Linked DNA regions of Homo sapiens: region 2 is linked to region 1. Evidence: promoter capture Hi-C in 16 types of primary human blood cells and fetal thymus (Javierre and others, 2016). All regions are on one chromosome and are shown on one strand. Each heading gives the region's core, a stretch centred on a gene start or on the middle of the fragment in contact. The rest is flanking DNA. Distances are from core to core; before and after follow the strand shown.

Region 1 (4,263 bases), core at 1,226-3,725:
GAATGTGTGTGTGAGTGTGTGCATGTGTGGTGACTCGGTACTGCTTGAGAGGAGGAAGAGGTGAAGAAATACGAATGTGTGAGGAACAGGTGAGTTTGCAGCTTTAGGGGACAGGTGGGATGGCTCACGTACAGGTAGGAAGGGGCCAGTGTGACATGAAATGAGATAAAATGCAGGGATTCCAGTGGAAGGGGCAGATTTTAGAGAACAGGTATTACCTGGAGGGGCAGGTAAGAGGGGACGTATGCTCCCCGAGAGACCAGACATCTTAAGGGCAGGTGTGAGGGGGACAAGTGTTACCTGGAGGGGCAGGTGAGAGGAAATAGGTGTTACCTCCAGGGCAGATGAAGGGAACAGGTATGGAGGACAGGTGTTGCGTGCAGGCAGGTATGAGGAGATAGATGTTACCTGGAAGTCCAGATTTGGGGAGTTGAAGGGGGAACATGGATGTGACAGGTGCATTGATAGACAGGTGTGAAAGGTTAGTTACCTGAGGCCACAGGTGGGTGCAGTGTGACTCTGCCAGATGGTCTGCCACCTCGATTTCTCTCGCTCCCCTGTCCTCCCCTCCCTGGGGAGCCAGTTCTGGCTCTCGGGTCCCTCCCGTGGCTCTGGCCCTGGGTGGGGCACAGAGTTAGCTCTGGGCTAGGCGAGGCCTGGCCTGCTGGCCTGCCGGGCAGCCAGGGCCCCTGAGGCTGCTTGGCGATGCGGAGCGCGTCTGGGCCGCGGCGGCCGGCCGGGAGGGGGGAGCGGGCGGGGGGGCCGTTTAGCCGTGATAGATCCGCGCGCCGCTTGTCTCTTAATCTCCAGAGCGACCGATCGATTCGCTATTTCCCTTTGTTGCCAGAAAATTCGATCCTGGGCCTGGAATTAGGTCCCCGGCTTAATCTGAGCGGAAACCAGCGAGGGGGAGACAGAGACAGAGATGCTGGGAGAGACAGAGACAGAGAGACAGTAAGAGACAGAAAGAGGCAGAGAGAGAGAGATAGAAAGAGATGCCGAGAAAGGAAGAGAGAGAGATAGATGCCGAGAAAGGAAGAGACACAGGGAGAGATAAGCACAGAGATTTAGAGAGAGATAGTCTTAAGAGTTGGACCCAAAAAGGAAGAGAGAGATGCTGTGAGAGACAGAGATAGAGAGACAGATCCTGGGAGAGTTAGAGGTGGACACAGAGATGCTGTGAGAGACAGAGACAGAGAGACAGTGAGGAGAGACCCAGCCAGGGGAGAGATAACAGAAGTGGCCCAGCAGGGCCCTGCGACAGTGGTGGAATGATAGAAAGGGTGTCCCAGAGGGCCCCGGCCCCACGAAGGTCAGGGCCAGGCCTGTACTCCTTGCCCCGAAGTGTGCAGACCCCAGAATTGGCCCAAATGTCCTTCCCACAGACCCTGTGACCCCTCATACCAAATATCCAGACCCCAGATATCCAGATCCAAATTCGCAGACCCTTAGCTTTGAACTCCAACTCCAAATCCAGACTTCTGGCCCCCTCAAGTCCAAACTCCTATGCTGATCCCCAGTCCCAGATATCCACACCCCCAGTCCTGACTCCCAGCCCCAGTCAGCTCCCAACCTCAGATATCTAGATCTTCCGCCCCAAGTGTCCAGTCTCTTGGCTTTGAGCCCCTAGGTCCCAAATATGCAAGCCCTCAGCCCTGACCTCTAAACCCCACTCAGAATCTAGCCCCAAATATCCAGACTCCTCAGCCCCAAACATCCAAATCCACCTTCAGGTCGGCCACCAACCCCCGTTCCCAGATTTTCAGTCCAGTCTCTTGCAGACCCCATCTCCGTGGCTCTCACTCGCTCTCCCTCCCCGCCCCCAAATCTCGCACCCCTGTCCCGAGGCCGCACCTCTAGCGCTACCCGCCTCCCACCTTCCCAGAGTTGGGCGCTGCCCCACCTGCCCCTTACAGCCGGGGCGGATGACCCCATCCGCCTACCCCTCCACCGGCTCGGAGGCCCAGCTTCTCAGGCCTCCCGGGACCACCCCCGCGCCCGCCCCCTCCTGGGGCGGGAATCCCCGCCCCCTCCCCGCCCCTGCGCCGGCCGCGGCGCTCACTCACTTTCTGGGCTTTTCGCATCCGCTCCGGTCCGGGGAGAAGTGTTTAAAGTTCGGATCCCGCAGCCATGGCCCCCGCGGCGTCCTGGGGAGGGGGCACCGGGGCGAGGGGCGGGGTGGGGGGAGATGCCCGGAGCCCCGGGGAGGCAGAGACCCAGAGGACGAGGAGAGGGAGTCTCTGAGACGCCGGGACAGGAGAGACTCAGAGACGGAGAGACAGCCAAGGAGACAGAGACGGGGAGACGAGCAGAGACGGGGAGATGCAGAGAGGGAGAGAGACAGCGAGATAGACGCGCAAAGAGAGCAGAGACGGGGAGAGCTGAGGACGGAGCTCCGGGCTGGAGCTCAGCACAGCGAGCGCGGGCGGGCGCGCGCCGGGGACAGCCTGGCCGGCTGGGGGCGCGGGGCGGCCCTGCCTCCTGCGCCTTCTCCTCTTCCTCCTCTTCCTCCTGCTCCTCCTCCTCCTCGTTCTCCTCCTCCTCCCTCCACTCCTCTGCGCGCCGCGCGCCTCCCGCCCTCGCGGCCGCCCGGCCGGGCTCGGCTCGCAGATATATGGAGGCGGCGGCGGCGGCGCGGGGGAGGGGGCGGGGGCGCGATCGATGGAATATAATTTTCCTCAAACTCGGAAAATAAAGTTCAGAGCTGATCAAATTTGAAAACAGATGTCGAATCGCGACTCTAAATAAGGTTCGATCCCGGGACTGAGGGAGTGGGGGTGGGGCGGGGGTGGGTGGAGAGGTGGAGAGACCCCCCTCCTCTCCCCTTCCCTTCTCCTCCGCCCCGCTCCTCCCTAAGTGGACGCGCGGACAAACGGACAGGCGCGAGGTGGAGGTGGCGACGATGCGTCCAGGACCCCTGCTGGACACGCAAGCCTGGACCGGGACTGGAACACGGACCCGCACACACGCAGCCTGGATAGGAGATACACGGACAGAGGGACATATGGATACAGTAAGACAGTGCAAACACACACTCAGGGACACACAACCCTACAGAGAGACAGACACAGACACACACACACAGACCTGCCATCTATACACGCAGCACACACATGCGGACCGTAATACAGGAAGTGGAAACACAACCGGTACACGGAGACATTCAGGCACACACAGAGAAACATATGCACAAACACAGCCTGCACACCACACCTTCCCCAACCCACAGCCACTCCCTGATCCACTGACCCACAAACTGGACACAAAGACAACCAGATGCACACACAGCCACACTCCACTCCCAACACACAGCCTGGACACACAAGCCCTCACTAACACATAGGCAGAACCCAGGGCTGGCACACTGACACTCCCCTTCACACTCCCACAAGGTCACAGGCACACACACGCACACCTACAGTGACAGGAAAGGGCCCTGCCCAGCCAGATCTGCTCCCATTGAAATAACAAGTCAATATCGACCAGCCTCAGGGCGGGTCAGACCCACAGTTCAGCTCCCGGCCGGCCGGACCTCCTGGCCCAACCTGACCCTCACCCTCACTGTCTACCCTCCTATTCCCTCCCTTGCCCCTTGCCCCTCGCCCCTTGCCCCTCACCCTGCCCTCTCTCCCGCTTCCACTCCCCAACCCACCACCCCCGACTTTTCTCTCCCATTCCCAGGTCAGGCTCCGCCCCGCCAAGTCCCACACCACCTTCTCTGGGGAAAGGCAGCTCTCACCTGGGCAGCCCCTGGAGGCTTCTACCCCTAGAGGGGAAAATAGGTCTCACGGCAAGACAGCAGTCCCCAGGTGGATATTCAGGGGCCAGGACAGCTCTGTCGGATCTCACCAACCCCACCAGCGCCCAGGTGCTGAGACCGAGGTGCTGAGAGGCTAGAAGAGAACTTCAGCCCTGCCTGACAGAGAAGGTTCAGCCTCACTCCCGCTCACCACTCACTCAGGCAAGTCGCTAAACATCCCCGAGCCTCAAGTTTCCTCATCTGCAAAATGGGACAATAATGACCTCCCTCCTAGAGTGGTTGGGAAGGTTAAACCGCAGGGCGCATGGAGCACAGCTGGTACTGCACCAAGTACCAAGTAAACACGCATTTGCTGTGAGCTTGCTGCTTCCGAATAATCTCATTAAAAATATTAAGAATTTTGCCAGATAACAAGAATTCCTTCACTTGTCTGTACCTTCACTTGTCTGAAAGGGAACATTCTTTCAAGGAGCCAACAGGCTTCACTGGGCTCCATTTACGAC
Region 2 (4,009 bases), core at 815-3,314, 84 kb before region 1:
GTGGTGGTGGGAGCCTGTAATCCCAGCTACTCAAGAGGCTGTGGCAGCAGAAGAATTGCTTGAACCCAGGAGGTGGAGGGTGCAGTAAGCCAAGATCACACCATTGCACTCCAGCCTGGGCAATAAGAGTGAAACTCCGTCTAAACAAAAAAAAAAAAAAAAAAAAAAAAAAAAAAAAGTACACATCATGACAGAATGACAGAATGTGTACATGGATAGATTGTAAAATCACAGTGCTGATTATTACAAATAGTATATAACATAATATCACTTGCATAAATTAAAAACTCAAACAGAGGTCGGGTGTGGTCGTTCATGCCTGTGATCCCAGCACTTTGGGAGGCCAAGGCAGACAGATCACTTCAGGCCAGGAGTTCTGGACCAGCCTGGTTAATATGGCAAAACCCCATCGCTAAAAAAAAAAAAAAAAAAAAAAAAAAAAAAAAAAAAAAAAAAAAACCCCAACAACAACACTACACACATCCTGGGAGAACACACACACAAACCAAAAGATACATATTAACCACCTTAGAATGAGAATTGCCTATAAGAAGGTTAGGGAATGAAAGTGGGGAATTGGTGGAAAATAACAGTGTAGGAGGGGGTACAAAGATCACTGACCTTGGCCTCAGAGACCCAGGTTGGAATCTTTACCCCTTCATTTACTAGCTGTCCAATTTGTTGAACTCAGAGCCTACTACCTTCTTTATAAAATGAAGTATAATACATCTCATAGGGTCATTGTGAAGATCAATAAAATTATTACCATAAGTATTAGGCAAATGCTAAGCTCTTTATAATCGTTGGTTACCCTGTTCCTCTACCACTATCCCTCCCTCCCACACACACTTCCTCTCACTCTCTCTCCACTACCTAAAGGATCAAGTTCAACCTCTTTAGCTGGCCTTTAAGCCTCCCCCGACCACACCCCACCCCACCCCAGATAAGCGCCACCCAACCTTTCCAATTTTATCTAGGACAGCTCCCCTGCCCAGCAGTCCAGCTAGAGGTCACGTCGGCCACCCTTTTCTGCCTGCAATGCCTCAGACACACATGCTCTGTAACCCAGAAATCTGTGGCCAAGAAAGGTGCCAAGACCCGCAGAAAAGCTGGGACACAGGAAAGAGAAACGAAGGCTGACAACAGATCTCACGGGGGTGAGGGAGATTAGGCCAATCAGAGAAGACAGCACACGCCAGCCTCAGATGCAGAACAACTGGACCTGGACCTAACAAGCTGAGTACAAGTGGAGACGCAACCAGAAAAGATTGAAGTGAAATCCTCAAGCAAAAAAAAAAAAAAAAAAAAAAAAAAAAAGGATGGAGCAGTAGTCAGAGGGGATGCCACCCCTACAAAAGACAAACAAATTGATGGAATGGAACCTTGCAGGGAGAGAGAGGACCAGCAGAGAGAGGGAGGCGTAGGAAAATGAGGAGTGGGGCACAAAGGTGGGGCTCTCAGGGAGAAGAGGAGTCGATTTTAGAGGGGGAGAAGAAAAGGACACAGAGCTGGCTGTACAGAGAAAAGGGGCCAAGGCAGAGAAGATGGCGGGATGGTGTGAGACGGAGTTCACAGAAATACCCAGAGAAGGCGACGATTACACAGAGGAGCCCCCAGAGGGGCGAACTCTTGAGGAAGATGAACGCGGAGGGTGGAGCCAGCCAGAAATTCAGAAAAACTAGAGGCGTCCCCGGTAGCGAAGGAAGCCGGGAAGGGGCCAGGCTATCAGGGCATGAAGCACGGGAGAAAATGGGTCCGAAGAGGGAGAGCGTCCGAGAGAAAAGGAAAATCAGAGATTAGGAAAATCACAACCGACACAAAGACAAGAAGAGACACAAGGAAAGGGGTGCAATCTGAGGAAGGAGGGCCCGGTAAGCAACCCGGTAATCACAGCGCTGGGAGAGAACGCATAAAAGAAGGGTAGCTCAGGAGTTGTGGGGCACCGGAAGAGACATAACAGAAAACGCAGGCCTCCACTCAGCAAAAACAAGCCACGCGCGAAGTCGAGGTACAAGGCAAGGGAAGGCCAGAAACGAGGCAACCCGTGCACAGACCGGGCTTGGTCAACGCCCCAGGGGCGGGGCCAGGCGGGCCGTTCCTGGGGGGCGGGGCCAGCCTCGGTCCAATAAGGGGTACTCGACGCCCCATTGGCCACCTGCCTCGAAAGGGGGAAGACAGTCTGGGCGGGCAGGACGTGCGGAGGGAGAGGCAGCGGTGGCGCGAGGCTCAACTCGAAGCGCTATTGGTGGGACTGATAGTCTTGTGCGCCAAGAAGCTGGCAGAAGGGAAGGGGCGGGACATCAGTTCAGGATCTCAAACCGCATTGGTCGTCTGCCTCGGCTGAGAGAGGCGATGCTTGAAGTTCATTGGTCTTTGTGAGACAGGGTAAGAAAAGCAGCGCGAGCTTGGCGGTTCCTCTGGCCACTTTCTCACAGTGTCTTTGGGCGTCTTCTTGACTGAATCTGACTCCATTGGAGGCTGTGGTAACCGTGAACTAGCTGCACGAACACGGTCCCTCCTGCCTTTCCGTCCTCCTCCCTCTTAGCCGGACTCCCTAACCCAGGCATCCCCTCTCCTCCCCCTCGCGCCCCTCCCGCCCTCGCGCCCCCTCTCCCCTTCCCTGCCTCGCGGGCCCCTTGGCGCGTTCCCGGTTCCCCACTCGCTCCCTGGGGCACGGGAAGGGGGGAGGGGGACATGCATGAAATTAATTGTTGGTAGTGGCCACAGGAGCAGGAAGCGCTGGACACAGTGACTTCACATGTTTACACAAAAACCTGAATAAGGTGTGAGCGCAAGAGAGACATTAGTGCCCCAAGGAGAAGGTTTTTGGCCCAGATCAGGGCCTAGCACATGACAGGGGCTCAGTAACCATTTGTGGAATGAATGAAGGAGTGAAGGAAAATAACTTGAAAGTGGGGCAGGTGGCGGGTGCGGTGGCTCATGCCTGTAATCCCAACACTTTGGGAGGCCGAAGCAGGCAGGTCGCTTGAGGCAGGTCAGGAGTTCAAGACCAGCCTGGCCAACATGGTGAAACCCCATCTCTACTAAAAATACAAAAATTAGACGGGCGTGGTGGCACAGGCCTGTAATCCCAGGTACTCGGGAGGCTGAGGCAGGAGAATTGCTTGAACCCAGGAGGCGGAGGTTGCAGTGAGCCGGGATTGCACTACTGCACTACAGCCTGGGCTACAGAGTGAGACTCCATCTCAAAACAAAAAAAAAGAAAGAAAGAAAGTGGGACAGGGGAGCCAAGCATAGTGGCTCCAGCCTGTAGTCCCAGCTACTGGGGAGGCTGCGGCAGGAGGATTGCTTGAGCTCAGGAGGTGGAGGCTGCAGTGAGCCATGATCACGCCACTGCGCTCCAGCCTGGGCAACAGAGCGAGACCCTGTCAATAAAAAAAAAAAGAAAGTGGAGCAGGGAATCCATGAGAATAAGGTAATTATTGGGGGTGCAAGAGAGGGTTCTGATTTAAAGGGGTACAAGAACAAAATAAGACTAAAGGAATGCAAGGAGGCAGTTGCTTTGCAGGGCATAGATGAGACTAAGAATTGAAATTGAACTAAGAATTGAAAGGGGCATAAAACTACTGGTAGGCATTGGATGAATGCATGAGAGTGGGGTGAGCATTGTTGAAGAGGATGCCAGGAAACACTGTTGGGACGGAACAGGGTGCTTGTGAAAAGGGGATGTAGGACTCGCTGAAGGGGTATGTGAGGACATGAGTAGGTTGGAACCTAGGATGTGTGTGTGGGTGGGAAAGTGTTTGGATTGAAAGAAAAGAATGTTTGAATTGAAAGAATACAGAATGTCGGGCGCAGCAGCTCATGCCTCTGATCCTAGCACTGTGGGAGGCCAAGGCAGGAGGATCGCTTGAGCCCAGGAGTTCGAGACCAGACCAGCCTGGGAAACATAATGAGACCTTGTCTCTATAAAAATAAAAAACAATTAAAAAAAAATTTTTTTTTTGAGACAGAGTCTTGCTCCGTCACCCAGGCTAAAGTGCAGTGG

The links. The method cuts DNA at HindIII sites, captures the fragments that hold promoters and counts their contacts. A CHiCAGO score of 5 or more calls a contact.
Region 2: the fragment with the promoter of LYPD4 here is called in contact with the fragment with the promoter of ERFL in region 1 in 12 of 17 cell types (non-activated CD4 T cells, total CD4 T cells, activated CD4 T cells and 9 more); the score reaches 12.1 in non-activated CD4 T cells.

Annotation. Positions count from the first base shown.
Region 1 is chr19:41,925,974-41,930,236 of GRCh38, forward strand. ERFL (ETS repressor factor like) reads right to left here and starts at 2,476. Exons shown (of 6, transcript NM_001365103.2): 1 at 2,067-2,476. It also overlaps a transcript of ARHGEF1 not described here. RefSeq lists a silencer at 2,422-2,601 and an enhancer at 2,873-3,373. The HindIII fragment of the contact is 35,384 bases long and covers 1-4,263 here.
Region 2 is chr19:41,842,619-41,846,627 of GRCh38, forward strand. It overlaps LYPD4 (LY6/PLAUR domain containing 4), which reads right to left and starts at 2,065. Exons shown (of 5, transcript NM_173506.7): 1 at 960-2,065. DMRTC2 (DMRT like family C2) reads left to right here and starts at 2,424. Exons shown (of 9, transcript NM_001040283.3): 1 at 2,424-2,483. The HindIII fragment of the contact is 15,469 bases long and covers 1-4,009 here.